Linked DNA regions of Homo sapiens: region 1 is linked to region 2. The links are contacts of gene promoters, found by promoter capture Hi-C in blood cells and fetal thymus (Javierre and others, 2016). All regions are on one chromosome and are shown on one strand. Each heading gives the region's core, a stretch centred on a gene start or on the middle of the fragment in contact. The rest is flanking DNA. Distances are from core to core; before and after follow the strand shown.

What was found. Contacts are between HindIII fragments. The CHiCAGO score rates a contact against its expected background, and 5 or more counts as called.
Region 1: a contact is called between the fragment with the promoter of CMC2 here and the fragment with the promoter of TERF2IP in region 2, in 3 of 17 cell types (M0 macrophages, non-activated CD4 T cells and M1 macrophages). The highest score is 17.6, in M0 macrophages.

What each region holds. Positions count from the first base shown.
Region 1 is chr16:81,004,738-81,011,764 of GRCh38, reverse strand. CMC2 (C-X9-C motif containing 2) reads left to right here and starts at 4,880. Exons shown (of 4, transcript NM_020188.5): 1 at 4,880-5,031. CENPN (centromere protein N) reads right to left here and starts at 4,551. Exons shown (of 11, transcript NM_001100624.3): 1 at 4,488-4,551. RefSeq lists enhancers at 4,043-4,182, 4,493-4,602 and a silencer at 4,773-5,142. The HindIII fragment of the contact is 14,741 bases long and covers 1-7,027 here.
Region 2 is chr16:75,642,814-75,650,477 of GRCh38, reverse strand. TERF2IP (TERF2 interacting protein) reads right to left here and starts at 2,705. Exons shown (of 3, transcript NM_018975.4): 1 at 1,926-2,705. The coding sequence starts at 2,595. It overlaps KARS1 (lysyl-tRNA synthetase 1), which reads left to right and starts at 2,813. Exons shown (of 14, transcript NM_005548.3): 1 at 2,813-2,900. The coding sequence starts at 2,839. RefSeq lists enhancers at 170-249, 828-1,783, 1,581-1,850, 1,784-2,741, 2,781-2,960 and a silencer at 2,161-2,280. The HindIII fragment of the contact is 3,802 bases long and covers 1,198-4,999 here.

The DNA.
Region 1 (7,027 bases), core at 3,631-6,130, 5.4 Mb before region 2:
TGCCAAAGTGCTGGGATTACAGGCGTGAGCTACTGCGCCTGGCCATCGGCATCATATTTAGCTGGGATTTTGATTTGTAGGTCCAACACCTAAATGTTTACACTTTTTCAGCTATTTTGCAGTGTTTTAGCATGAGCATTTAATTATTTTCTCCTTAATGTATATTTAAATGTTTTAGAGTTTAAAAATTAGTGCTATCTCTCCTTTTCTGGCTAGAGTATTTTGATGTTTTGATGGTGATGATATATAAATCATTCATTCATTTACTGATTCATGTAACCCCTTACTGAGGATCTGTGCATGCCAGGCCCTTTTCTAGGCACTGGGGATACATATGTCTTTGGCCAAAAAGACAAACATCTGTTCCAGTATGGCACATCCATTCTAGTGGGGAGAGAGAAACAACAGGGAAATCACAAACTATGTTAAAAGTGAGGAGTGCCGGAGAAAATGGAATAATTTTGGCAGGCTGAGTTGAGCGTGGGAGTGCTGGAGAGAGTAGGCATCATAGAGAACATGACTTGGGGGCAATCCTTGTAGGAGAAGGAGTCATGTGGTGGAAGAGCTTTCCAGGCAGAAGGAACAGCATGTGCAAAAGTCCTGAGGCAAGAGCCTGCTTGGGGCCTTCGAGGAACAGGGAAGGGTGGCCTCCAGTCAGGGGACAGCAGAGACAGGAAGGAGGCATAGAGAAGGAGGTGAGGTCAGTCATCATGGAGGGCCTTGAAAGGCACTGCGGGGATCACTGCTGTTTTCACTCTGCAAGGTGCTGAGCACAGGCAGGACATGCTCTTGTTTAGCTTTTCTACCAGGATCAATCTCGCTACTGTACTGAGAACGCAGTGTAAGGAGGCGAGGGCAGAGGTTGGAGGTTAGTGAGGCAGGGGAAGAGGTCAGGTTCTGGATACACTTTTAAGAGGGAACTCACGGGGTTTCCAGATGGATTACATGTGGGGTGTTAGATCAAGAAAAGAACCAAAGATGAAACCAAGGTTTTTACCAGGGAACTAAAAGACAAAGTTACTATTAGCTGAGACGGCCAAGACTGCGAGAGAGGCAGGAGAAAGCTCAAGAATTCTGTAATTCTGTTCTGAATCTGTTAATATTAAGATAAAGATGAGAGTCCAAATGGAGATACCGAATAAACAGCTGGATCTGTGACTCCACAGGACATGCTAAGAGCTAGTGGTGCAGTGGATTGCTGTCTCTTAGTCCTTTAATGCACCGCCTGTGAACAAAGAGCTCTTTCCTCCCTCACTTCTCCTGCCCATGCCTGAGGGTGAGATTCCTTAATTGTCTATAAGGTCCTGAGCCCCAAATCTGGTGTGCCTCCCTTATCAATAGGCAAGGGATATAATCTCCAGAAGAATGACCTAGCGGCTGCAGGAATAAGGAAGGAAGATTCTGAGCTCTTTTATCATTTTCCTTTGGCAGAAGTTGTGAGCCAATGGTGACAGCTGATCTCACGTCTGCTACTTTATTTGGGGACACCAGTGAGCATCTCTCTCTCTCTCTTCAAATACAGAACAAAAAAGCAAGCAAACATGATATTTATTTATTTTTTTCATTTGAGATAGAGTCTCACTCTGTCGCCCGGGCTGGAGTGCAGTGGTGCAACCTCGGCTCACTGCAACCTCCCCTGCCTGGTTCAAGTGATTCTCCTGCCTCAGCCTCCCAGGTAGCTAGGACTGCAGGCGTGCACCACCACGCCTGGCTAATTTTTGTATCTTTAGTAGAGACATGGTTTCACCATGTTGCCCAGGCTGGTCTCGAACTCCTGACCTCAAGTGATCTGCCCTCCTCGGCCTCCTGAAGTGCTGGGATTACAGGTGTGAGCCACCGCGCGTGGTCTGCAAACATGATTTTTATACAATGCAGGGTACCACCCGCATACTTTAATGTCCCTTAACAGTGTGTCTTCTAGGAAGGCACACACAGACCTTGGCATCTGTGTTTAAGACAAGCCTGTCAGTCATCTGTTTCCTTCACAACTGTGGGAATTCCAGGGACAAAGAAGTATCTTCCTACAAGAGTCCTGGCTGTGACTTATTTGTTGAACACTGAAAAATTATCCTTGTCCACTTCTGAAAAGAAATAGTTGACTGTATTTTAACAATATACTGAAAATGATAGTAAGACAAAGATAAAGAGGAAGGATTAGGAGTCATTTAGAAATAGAAAAATAACTGAATTAAGGTCGTAGGAACAGAATCAGGATCATGAAACAGGAGTCGGATTTGTTTCTTTGTGTAGTTACTGGACCATCTAAAGCCTTCACCATGGTCTACAAGGCCCCGTGTTGCGTGGCCCCTGCTTCCCTCTCCTTGGTTTTCTGAGCTCCAACTACACTAGTCTCTTAAATAATCTCTAGAGAAGGACCATTGTGCCTGCAGTTACAACTGCCTAGAAGGTTCTTCCTGCACATGTTCTCTCCAGTGACTTCTTGCAATTCTGGTGTTAGCTTAGATGGTTTCTCCTCAGACTTATCCTGACCACCCAACCAAAAGTTACTTCCCCACTCTCCACTGCTAATTGTTTTTTTCCTTTTTTTTAGACGGAATCTTGCTGGGTCACCCACATTAGAGTGTAGTAGTGGGATTTCTGCTCACTGCAGCCTCCTGCAGCCTCTGCCTCCCAGATTCAAATGATTCTCCTGCCTCAGCCTCCCGAGTATCTGGGATTACAGGTGTGCACCATGACACCCAACTAATTTTTCTACTTTTAGTAAAGATGGGGTTTCACCATGTTGGTCAGGCTGGTCTTGAACTCCCAAGCTCAAGTGATCCTCCCGCCTCGGCCTCCCAAAGTACTGGGATTACAGGCGTGAGCCTCTGCACCAGGCCATCCACTGCTAATTGTCTTTACAGAACTATCTGAAATTATCTTTTTAACTTTTCTTGTTTCTAAAATTGAGCTCCAGGGCAGGACGATGTTTTTATTCACAGCTATACTCCTAGACCAGAACTGCCTCACTATAGTCAGTAAGTCTAATCAGGCCAAGAACAGTCTAATGTGTCTTTGATAAATACTTGTGGAATGAATGCCTGAGGAGACAACCTGGGTGGTTTGGGGTTCAACAGTCAGTGAAACATCAAATCAACACCTCTCCCATTAAGAACACGGGCGAGGGGCCGGGAGCGCGCCGGGCGTGGTGTATCACTTGAGGTCAGTCGTTCAAGACCACCCAGGCCAACATGGTGAAACTCCGTCTCTACTAGAAATACAAAAATTAGCCGGGTGTCGTGACGCACACCTCTAGTCCCAGCTACTCGGGAGGCTGAGGCAAGAGAACAGCCTGAATCCGGGAGGAGGAGGTTGCAGTGAGCCGAGAACGTGCCACTGCCCTCCAACATGGGCGACAAAGCAAGACTCCGTCTCAAAAAAACAAAAAACAAACAAAAAAACCCACAGACGAGGCTACCCGTTAAAATGAAGATTCCTGGGCCCTATCAAATTAAACTGTGAGGAGGGCGCACGGAGGGCTTGAGATTTAGCATCTTTTAAAAAGTACGTCAGATGATTTATTCCGGGTAAAGTTTGCAGAACGCCAGTCTAAAGAAATTTGGTAGAGCGCCCTCAGTCTCACCAATTAAGACGGAAATCCCTTTAGTAAACGTTTACCCCGTGACCATTTTTAAACTTTCCTTTTTTTGTTGTTTCGGAGACACAGTCTCGCTTTGTCGCCCAGGGTGCAGTGCAGTGGCGCGATCTCGGGTCACTGCAACCTCCGCCTCCCGGGTTCATGCGCTTCTCCTGCCTCAGCCTCCCAAATAGCTGGGATTACAGGCACCCGATACCACGTCCGGTTAATTTTTGTATTTTTAGTAGAGACGGGGTTTCACCATGTTGGCCAGGCTGGTCTCGAACTCCTGACCTAAGGTGATCCGCCCACGTCGGTCTCCCAAAGTGTTGGGATTACAGGCGTAAACTACCGCGCCTGGCCCCATTTTAAAACTTTCTTTATACTTCCTAGCGTTTTAGTGTCTGACATACAGTAGATGCTCAAGATCTGTGGAACGCATGATCAAAAAGATCCATTTTAAGTAACGTTCCCGTAGCCACACACCTCTGCTGCGCTCCAACAGGCAATGCGAGGAGCAACGCAAGAGGGTACAGGGACAAAAAACGACGGAAGCCGAGGTGACAGAAAAGCAAAACCCCAACTCTGGGAAAGGAAGCAACCCCAGGATCGTAGAGCGGAGCCCCTGGTCACATGACCACACGGCCCTCCCCTGACGCAGTCGCGAGCCTACGAAAGGCTCCACCCGCCCCACCGCGGGCGAGGTGACGTCACAGCCGGCACAGCGCCACCGCCCCCTCACCTCGGCCCGAACCGTAGTTCCTCGCCCCGAGCCCGAGACCCAGCGCCAATCCTGCGCCTCACAACGTGCGACAATTGCGAAAAAGCCACCCCCGAGGCCTGGGATCTGGCTTCCTCAAGGCCCCACACCCTCCGGGGCCCGATCCAGTGCCGCCCGGGGCTCTCTTACCGGCCCACATCTCCTGCAGTCTCACTCCTCAAGAGCTGTTCCCGCTCGCCGCGCCTTCAAAGCCACCAATTGCAGTTCCCGCCGCCTCCAAGCTCCGCCCACCGGAGCACAAGCATCAGGCTGTGTCTTGGGCACAGGGGACTGCACGGGGGAGCGACTGAAGCGAAGGTCGCCGAGCCCCCCACGCCGCTCTTCTTAGAAGTGTGCAACCTTGCACCAGTAGTGGACTTACACATAGGCTCCGTTAGGACCTGGCTTATGTGCTCGGCTTGTGGCTTAGACGCTGCCGTGCCCCAGTGGACTCACTGTGCCTCCCCCCACGACGGACGGAAATGGGCCCCTCCAGGACAGGCGGCGCATGCGCCTTGGGGCCCGCGGGCGGCGGGGGCGAGGAGCCGGGAGCACGGTGGAGCGGTGGAGGGCGTCACTGGGTTTCGGCGTCTGGCAAGCGGTTCAGCTGTCTGCTCCCTAGCAGCCGGCCTTCGGGTCGGGCGTCTCCGCCGGCTACTGCCGCTTCAGTTCTCCCGGTGTGGCCACGAGTCGGGTGAGTCTCGGGAGTCCAGGCCGTTCCGAACGCGTTCCGTTGTTCCTCCTCAGGTCCCTGATGGCGCGTCCCGCCGAGCCCCTTCCTGCCGCCCGTCGGCCCCAGGAGGTGGGGACCAGGAAGACCCGGCTGCCGCAGGCCCACAGCCGGGCTGCTGCGCTGGGGAGGCTGCGAGCGAGGTGGCTGGGCGCTCGCTGGAACACGCTGGTGGCCGAGACAGGCCGTGGGCGTCGCTCGGGGTTGGGATCCGCCCGCCACTCACTCAACTGGCTGGTGACCTTGGGCGCGCTCCTCCCCTCCCGGAGCCGGGGCTTCCTCGCCGGTAAAATGGACCTTGAGGAATGGAGCCCTCAACACAGGGTTTGACACGATGAGCGCCCAATAAAGTGTTGTTATTGTTGTTTATCTAGCAATTGAGAATTTGCGGGTAGAAAACGGGGGCCGTTCAAGCAAGTCTCAGCTGCAGTGCCCTGTGATGTGAGAACCCACCAAGAGCCCCATCAGTACACTTTACTCTTTTTTCTCCTTTAATGCTTTTTTTTTCCAGGAAAGTAATACATTCATCTTGCTTTTCTTGCGTTTAAAGATCAGGCGTTTTACGTAGAGTCTTAAGTAAATCAGTTTTGGAAGTCTTCATTTAAAACCTCAAAGGCATGGAAGTTTTCGATGGCAAAGGAATTATGTTGTGATGCCATTCGTATCTCCTCTCCTTTATATGTATGGCTTTTGCACTTGTTTAGTTGATTTAAAATGAGTTTCTTTTTCATCCTTTTCCTACTGCGTTGAGGCCTGAACTAGTTGTCAGTTTCTGACATTCCGCGAACATCGATTGGGCATTTACCATGTGCATTGGCAAGAATGCTCCCTCACGAGCCTGTGCGTTCCTTGAGATGTGTGAACGAGTATTTTCCTCTGAAATTCACATGATTCTGGCAGAGTGCTAGGCACCTTGTAAGTCCTGGTAATGTTTATTCAGGGAAAGCTGCGAGGGCGCATTCTCTGAGAAACTCTTCGGTGGAAGTCAGAGTAGTTAAGCCCTTCTCCCTAGGCAGCACCCCCGGGTCCCTCCCAGAAGCAGCCTGGCATGGGGTCTACAGTGCCAGCGCCAGTCGCTTTCTTAGTGGTATCGGTTTAGAACTGGTCCTGTGATAAGTGGAAGTGGGCAGGGGAGGCCGTCCCCGACCGTGTCTGCGACCTCTGCTGCAGTATGGCTCATAGCTTGAAAAGTTGAAAAATAATTCTTTAATACCAGGGCCGAAATGTAGGCCTTAAAAATGTTTTATGTTATTTATTTATATATATATATATTTAAATTTTATTTTGAGACGGCGTCTTGTTTTGTCGCCCAGGCTGGAGTGCAGTGGCGCGATCTCGGCTCACTGCAACCTCCACCTCCCGAGTTCTAGTGATTCTCGTGCCTCAACCTCCTGAGTAGCTAGGGTTACAGGCCACGCCTGGCTAATTTTTGTATTTTTAGTAGAGACGGGGATTCACCATGTTGGCCAGGCTTGTCCTGACCTCAAGTGATCTGCCTGCCTCGGCCTCCCGAAGTGGTGGGATTACAGGCGTGAGCCACCGCGCCTAGCCTAAAAAGATATATTTTAGAAAGCGGAGTGTTTACAGTTTTTTTTTCTGGAGAACAGTTTCTTCAGACTCTGCACAACAGACTTTTCTGGCCTTGTTTTTTGCTTATTTTGCAGTAGCATTAGAAATTACAACTGTAGTGTAAATTTCCTGTGCAGCCGCACAATAGGAAAATCTTTCTAAAGAAAAGCCAACTGGCATTAAAATACAGGGTTCTTCCTTGTGATTATAGATTTGCTGAAGTGAGTTATTAGAATGCTTACCCGTTTTCTTTATACTAGAGTTAATACAGCGCTGGCTCTTGGTTTATTTTCTAAAATTGTGCCACCTGGTGGTTGAAATCTGTCTTAGACTACTCTTGAGGAAAATTGTACCTCAGAGTCAGTAGACAAAGATTGAAGGAGTGAGTAAA
Region 2 (7,664 bases), core at 1,456-3,955:
TAGCCCTAACCTCATCTGCTATAATTAATTCTCCCTCCTACTCCATTAACAGCCACTCTGTTCTCTTTGTGGCTCCAAACACACCAGCCATACTCCCACCTAAGGGCGATTGCCCTGGCTTCTTCCTCTGCCTGAACACTCTTCCCCAGATATCCACCTGGGTTGCTCTTTCACTTCCTTCGGTCTCTGCTTAAACATCAGCTTATGAGAATGACCTTCTCTTATCATCCTATAGGAAAAACCTCCTCCCCAACCCTTACACTCTGAATTATTTTTCTCTATAGCCCTTACCACTCCCCAGCTAGCATGTTATAAGCTCCAGGACCACAGGGACTTTTATTTATTGTTATATTCCAGCAGGACCACAATGTCTGGCACTCAAATTTCTGCTGAATGAATGAAGCTGAAATGTCACTTTTACCAAAACAAAATTCCTACTAAGCATACTGAACAGGAGAAAAAGATTTTACTCCCCAGACTTCAAGTGTTAAATGGAGTAGTCATACAGGCAAAGAAAAGGTGGGAGGATTACGGAGGGGGAGGAGAAGCAGCATGCCTCTTTAAACAAAAGGGTCTATCGGTTTAAGTTATCAATGCCAGGTACGTCACCAAGTACATCTTAACAGACTCGTTCTGTATCCTAGACATACTGAACCCCAATTTTCAATTCAACTGCATTAAAAACTCACTTCACCTAAGCAAGACCAGGAAGAGACCTTCCAACTGCCGAGAACCTTCTTAAGTCCATAGGCATTCAGTTACGCCAGAGCATTAAAGTAAGTCTGGTACGCCTTTATACTGAATCTACCTGAACATAACAGCAATCTTTTTTAAAAAGGAGTCTGTGGAATATCTCTTAAAAGAAACACAAGAAGCCAGTTAGCCCGTGGGTAGCTGGTGGACAGGAAGGACGAGATAATTTTTTTTTTTTTTTGAGATGGAGTCTTGCTCTGTCACCCACGCTGGAGAGCAGTGGCGCAGTCTCGGCTCACTGCAACCTCCGCCCCCCGGGTTCAAGCAATTCTCCTGCCTCAGCCTCCTGAGTAGCTGGGACTACAGGAACTCTCCGCCACGGCCGGCTAATTTTTGTATTTTTAGTAGGGGCGGCATTTCGCCATGTTGGTCAGGCTCGTCTCGATCTCCTTACCTCAGGTGATCCGCCCGCCTCGGCCTCCCAAAGTGCTGGGATTACAAGCTTGAGCCGCCGCGCCCGGCCAAGAGAGAATTTTCTATATACTTTTTGTAACTTTTGAATATAGAACCATGTCAATATTCTAGTCAATGGTAAAGTAAATTAAAACTAGACCAAGAAGCTGGGTGTGATGGCTCACGCCTGTAATCCCAACACTTTGGGACACCGAGACGGGAGGATCGCTTGAGCCCAAGAGTTCGAGACCTGTCAGGGCAACACAACGAGACCCCCATCTCTACAACAATTTTTTTTTTAATTTAGCGGGACGTGGTGGCGCGGGAGTGTAGTTCCAGCTACTTGGGAGGCTGAAGCCGGAGATTCGCTTGAGCCCAGGAGGTCCAGGATGCAGTAGGTCGTGATCGCGCGGCTGCATCACAGCCTGGGCGACGGAGCGAGCCCCCACTCAAAAATTAAAAAATAAAAACGACGAGAGGCCAGACGTGGTGGCTCACTCCTGTAATCCCAACACTTTGGGTGGCCGAGGCAGGAGGATCGCTTGAGCTCAGGAGTTCAGACCAGCTTAGGTAACAGAGACCCATCGCAAAAAAAGAACAATAATAAACAACAAGGGAGCGAGAAGGCAAGAAAATGGTGCAAATTTACCCGGATGTCAACAGGGGGCGGGGCCAAGCGCTGCTACCGAAGATGCCAAGATGGACGCCAGGCAGCCAGGAGAAAGATCCCAACCCCACCCGCGCAGATATCCGCGAGGCCCCGCGCTCAGCCTCCTCACCCCCGCTATCCGCGGCCTCCGGGTCCTCCTCCGCCTTCCGCTTGAGCTTCTGGGAGGAGGGGCTCACCGGCGCGTCCCCCAGCAGGTACTTATGCTCCTGGCCCCGCAGGTGCTTGAGGTAGCGGTCCTTCAGGGACTGCCACGAGTGCTGCGTGAGCGAGCTCTTCTCCATCGCTTTCCACAAGGCGTTACCGGTGACGGAGCTGGGCGAGCGGGCATTTTCCTTCACGTAGGTAAGGATGGCTACGTCGTCCGCATCCGTGAAGGCGATCCGCCCGGCGTGCCGCTGCGGCTCCGGCTCCGCGGCGCCCTCGGCCAGGGCCCCGGGCTTTGCTTCCGAGCCGGTGTCCGCCGCCGAGGCGGGGCCCAGCCGATAGGCCTCCAGCTCCAGCCTCTCGTTGCGCTCCACGCAGTCCAGGATGTACTGCGTGGAGATGAAATCACCCGAGGCCTCGGCCAGCGCCTCCCCGGGCTGGGCCAGCAGCACGGCCCCGGGCTCCTGCACTCGGCACACGGTGCCGCCGCCGTGCAGGATGAGCGTCGACAGCCGACGCTTGGCCGGGCTGGGCCGCACGTAGAAGGACATGGAGCTGCCGTCGTCCCTCACGAACAGAGTCGAGGAATGGGTGGGCCCGTTGGGGTCTTTGCCCAAATCCATCGCCTCCGCCATGTCTGACGCCGAGCACTACTAGAAGAGCTACCCCCTCGCGAGCGCCTGGCACACAGAGCTCAACTGACTGAGCTGTCACCGCAGACGCCTCTGCCGCGAAGCGCAGCACTGGGCCTGCGCAGCAGCAGCCGCGGCGCATCGAGAGTGCCCGCCCCCTCTCCCCCGGAAGAGGTGGGGCTTCGCACCTTGACCTGGAAATTAACGTACTATCCTCCTTACTTTTGGGTCGGGCCCTCCGGGAAGATGGCGGCCGTGCAGGCGGCCGAGGTGAAAGTGGATGGCAGCGAGCCGAAACTGAGCAAGAAGTGAGTGTCGCTGCGAGTCTTTAAAGCCTTTGCGGTAGGAGAGTCTGGGCTGGGAAGCGCCGCGAGGTTCCCACCAAGGCTGCTGTGCCGGGGCCTTCTTGCCGGCTCTCGTGGGTACGCACATGCTGAGACGTGGTGGCTGCGCCCTGCAGACCACGTACCCCGGGATACCCCGGGCACGCCGGCTCCCCGTTCCCAGCTGGCACCGGCGGGATGCTCCCTATCATACTCCTAGAGTTAAGAGACTGTGGAGGAGGAACTAGGACGAGAACTAAGAGTTATCAGAAAAGAAAAGCGAAACTTCCTGCTTAGCTTCATCCTCCTTTCTGAGAAATGCATTCTTTTGTTGAGCCACTCAGTAAACGTGGAAGTTGGAGAAATGTTAAATACCCTAGCTTTTCAGAAAGACCTTCAAAATTTTCTGGGCCTCACTAAGGTCATTCTGAACGTTATGTATTAAAAGGGATCAGTTCTAAAACTGTCATGCATCTACCCGTATGGGTTATTCAGTAGATACCTGTGAGTATTAAGTGATCAACGTCTAACAGTAGAGACCATCTTAATTCAGCCTGATATCTTTGTTAACCACTCCCAAATCCCTGGAGTATGTAGGTTAACATAGATAAGTCAGGATTAGCCACCCTTTAACTGGCTGTCTTATATTCTCATTAGCGTTCCCCATTTGAACCACAGAACACAGGTAATTGAGTGTTTTATCATTGCTAGGAAGATGGTACATAGTACCATTCCAGAGGCATACGAGAGGGCTTAATCCCCGTGGCGCGCACTTGTTATCCCAGCTACTCGGGAGACTGAGGCAGGAGAATCGCTTTAACCCAGGAGGCGGAGGTTGCAGTGTGCTGAAGTCGTGCCACTGCACTCCAGCCTGGGAGACTTGAGGTAGTGGTCCTTCAGGGACTGCCAGAAGTGCTGCGTGAGCGAGCCCTTCTCCATCGCTTTCCCCAAGGAGTTACTGAGACGGAGCCAGACCCTGAATGAAAAAGAAAAGAGAAATGATGTTTCTTTTTTTTTTTTTTTAAGATGGAGTCTCGCTCTGTCGCCAGGCTGGAGTGCAGTGGCGCGATCTCAGCTCACTGCAACCTTCGCTGCCAGGGTTCAAGCGATTCTCCTGCCTCAGCCTCCCGAGTAGCTGGGATTACAGGCGTGTGCCACCATGGCTGGCCAATTTTTGTATTTTTAGTAGAGACAGGGTTTCACCATGTTGGGCAGGATGGTCTCAATCTCGTTACCTTGTGATCCGCCCACCTTGGCCTCCCAAAGTGCTGGGATGACAGGCGTGAGCCTGAGCCACCACCCCTGGCCTGATGTTTCCTTTTGTGTCCCTGGCTTTGTGCTTCAAATATCTTAGAAAAAGTATAAGAGAAATTGTCGAAGTTTATAGTTGGGTAGGACCTTAATATATTGTCCTTTATTAGAGCAATCCGATGGACTTCCATAAAAGTTTGGAACCTGGTCTTTGGACTGCTACCTTAGAGAAAATTGACTTGACTTTATTAAGTCAAATTTAATTGAATGTGGTATATCTGTGATATACGATCCTAAAGTTTAGTTCATTCTTTCAAACCACCTATGATAATCAATTACATTGAATTGAACTTTAGGACTGTATATCACAGGTGAAAGCACGGTTTCCAGTTCAGAGTGTGTTTTTAGGTAAACGGAAAAAACTGGTTAATTCCTCTTTACTGACTTTTTTTTTTTTTTTTTTTTTTTGGAGGCAGAGTCGTTGTTGCCCCGGCTGGATTGCAGCGGTGCGATTTCAGCCCACGGCAACTTGCAACTCCCGGGTTCAAGCAATTCTGGTGCTTCAGCCTCCCAAGTACCTGGGACTACAGGTGCATGCCACAACACCCGGTTAAATTTTTGTGTTTTAGTAGAGACGGGATTTGACCTTGTTGCCCAGGCTGGCGTCAAACTGCTGAGCTCAGGTGATCCGTCCGCCTCAACCCCACAAAGCGCTAGGATTATAGGCGTGAGCCACCACTCCCTGCTTCACTGACTTTTCTAAAATTAAATACAGCTACTACTTTTTTGACCAGCTTTTCTGTGCCAGGCACAATGCTAGATCTCTACAAGCTTTCTGTCTAGTGTCAGTAATAACCTTGCAAGAGGAGTTATTGTCCATTTTTCAAATTAATAAACTGAGGTCCTAGTAATTAAATGCACTATTAAAGTGTGCATTCCTAAAATATAGTCTAGCAGTGATCCAGAGCACTGGAGCACGGATCTGAACTCAGGCCTGTGACTCCACAGTCCATGCTCTGTATCCTGACTGCACAGCACTACTCACGTTGTCTTACCTGTCATTGATGTCTATTCCTCTCGTTACCATGAGCTAAAATAATTTTTTTCTGATTAACATTTCCTTCCGTTTATTGTTCTGGGGAATTCCTTGGTCTGAAATTTTTAGTAAGCACCATTTTGTGCCAGGTATTGACTCCAAGTTTAAAAGCAGATGTGCTCCCTGCCCGAGTGAAATAGCCTCCTCAAATTTATTTGAACACGGTAAAGAAGGTGATCTCTGTAATTCTGTTGCCTTCCAGTGTTGATAATGTATAAACATAACGCAGTCTAAGGACCTTCCTGAAATTCTCCTTTCCCCTTGTTCCTAGAGTTCCAAACAAGTCTTCTCTTTGACACGTATTTTTGTGTGGCTTGCATTTATCTTTGTCTAGAGTTTGCAATTGATAGTGACAGTTTCCTCTTATTTTATATGCTTCCTATTGCCATCTTGTGGCCAGGTATTTCCTCTCCAGGTGAGAAACCACACTTCAGGGCTTCAGAAAGTGCCTCACATCCTGTTCCCATATTCTAGGATGTTGTGAGCAATTTTACCTGTAAGCTATCCATTAACTTGCTGTTGGCTTTACCCCAGATATGCATGTTTTTTCCATAGTCAGGACTAAGAACATTGTCAGTTACAGTTGTAGCACAGAGAGTGTTACAGGGTTGCTATCAGTTAAGACAGTCTTAAGTTAAATGGGACTAAAAGGTAGTAGAAGCATGGTCCCCCTCCCCAACCCATAAGAGAGTTGGTTGGGTATATGTATACTGTCTGTCCCATCTGACACCACATCTCTGTGTTTCCCGCTAGGTGGTGGTAATCATTAGTTCCAGGGTGCTCTGCCATGTTGACGCAAGCTGCTGTAAGGCTTGTTAGGGGGTCCCTGCGCAAAACCTCCTGGGCAGAGTGGGGTCACAGGGAACTGCGACTGGGTCAACTTGCTCCTTTCACAGCGCCTCACAAGGACAAGTCATTTTCTGATCAAAGAAGGTTGGTGCCCATTACCTTCTTTATTGCTCTGGAAGCAAAAATTATTTCCTTACTTGGTTCATTTTCCGTTAAGCCTCTGGCTAAGTCTTTGGACTTGTTGCTAAGGAAACAAGGAGCCCTAATACCAAAACCAATAGTCCTTTCTCATTTTCTCTTTAATAAATTCAAATCGTCTCTCCTTAGAGTCTTGAGATGACATGTGGATCTTATTCTAGAAGAGTGCTAAGAACAAAACCTTTGTTTGAACAAATAATTTCTAATGCCAGCTATTTCCCTTTTCTGTCTTTCTGGAGTTTTGTGTGCTCTTGAGATTAATTTGGTTTCTAGTCTTAGTGCTATCCCTAGGACCTTTTTGGATTATCCTTAAGATTGATTTGATTTAAGAGGAGCACCTGGTTGAGTGGAAAACAGATTTATCTTAATTCTAGAAGAACTAGACAGCCTAATCTTAGCAGTCCACTGACTGAATTATAGCATGATAACACCAGCACAGTGTTTTGGAAAGGTTGTCTTTACAAATGTTATAAGACATTATATGTAGAAAAAGCTGTCAACTTTGAAACCATTCAGAATCTGTTTTTCTTTTTTACAAGATGAAAGATTCGGCCAGGCGTGGTGGCTCACGCCTGTAATCCCAGCACTTTGGGAGGCCAAGACAGGCAGATCACGAGGTCAGGAGATCAAGACCATCCTGGCTAACACGGTGAAACCCCATCTTCACTAAAAATACCAAAAAAATTAGCCGGGCATGGTGGCGGGCACCTGTAGTCCCAGCTACTCCGGAGGCTGAGGCAGGAAAATGGTGTGAACCCGGGAGGCAGAGCTTACAGTGATCTGAGATCGCACCACTGCACTCCAGCCTGGGCAACACAGCGAGACTCTGTCTCAAAAAAAAAAAAAAAAGGTGAAAGATTCAAAACCTCAATTCATTTTTTAAAGTTATTCTAAATTCATATCGAAAATGAAGGATGTGTCCTGAAGCCAGAATGTTTGCGGGCATGACTTGGGATCTTCTGCTGTGGTTCACTATTGCAGAATATTTGATTATGTTCAGCGGTTTGAAAGAATGATCCATAAATTGTCTTTGAATAGTAAAGATATCCCTCCCTACACCAATCTGTTTAGTTTCTGGTTTCAGATAGCAAATTCAGACTATAAGAGACATGAACATATCATACAGAACAGCTCAGAGTTGTCCGCATTACTTTGGTTTTTCAGGTTCAAGTGATAAGTATCAAGAGTTTGGATACCAAGTGATTTAACCAGAAATGTATTTAAATCTATATGAGGCACAGAGAGTAAAGGGTTAAGATACTAAAAGATACCTAGAAAGCTCACATTTGGTTAGCTGAATGCCAGGGTCAGGGTAATCCCTTTATACAAACATTATCTCATTACACACCATAACAACTGGTGGGGGTTGTCTATTATTATTTTCGTTTCACAGGTGAGAAGTTAATTCACTCGTC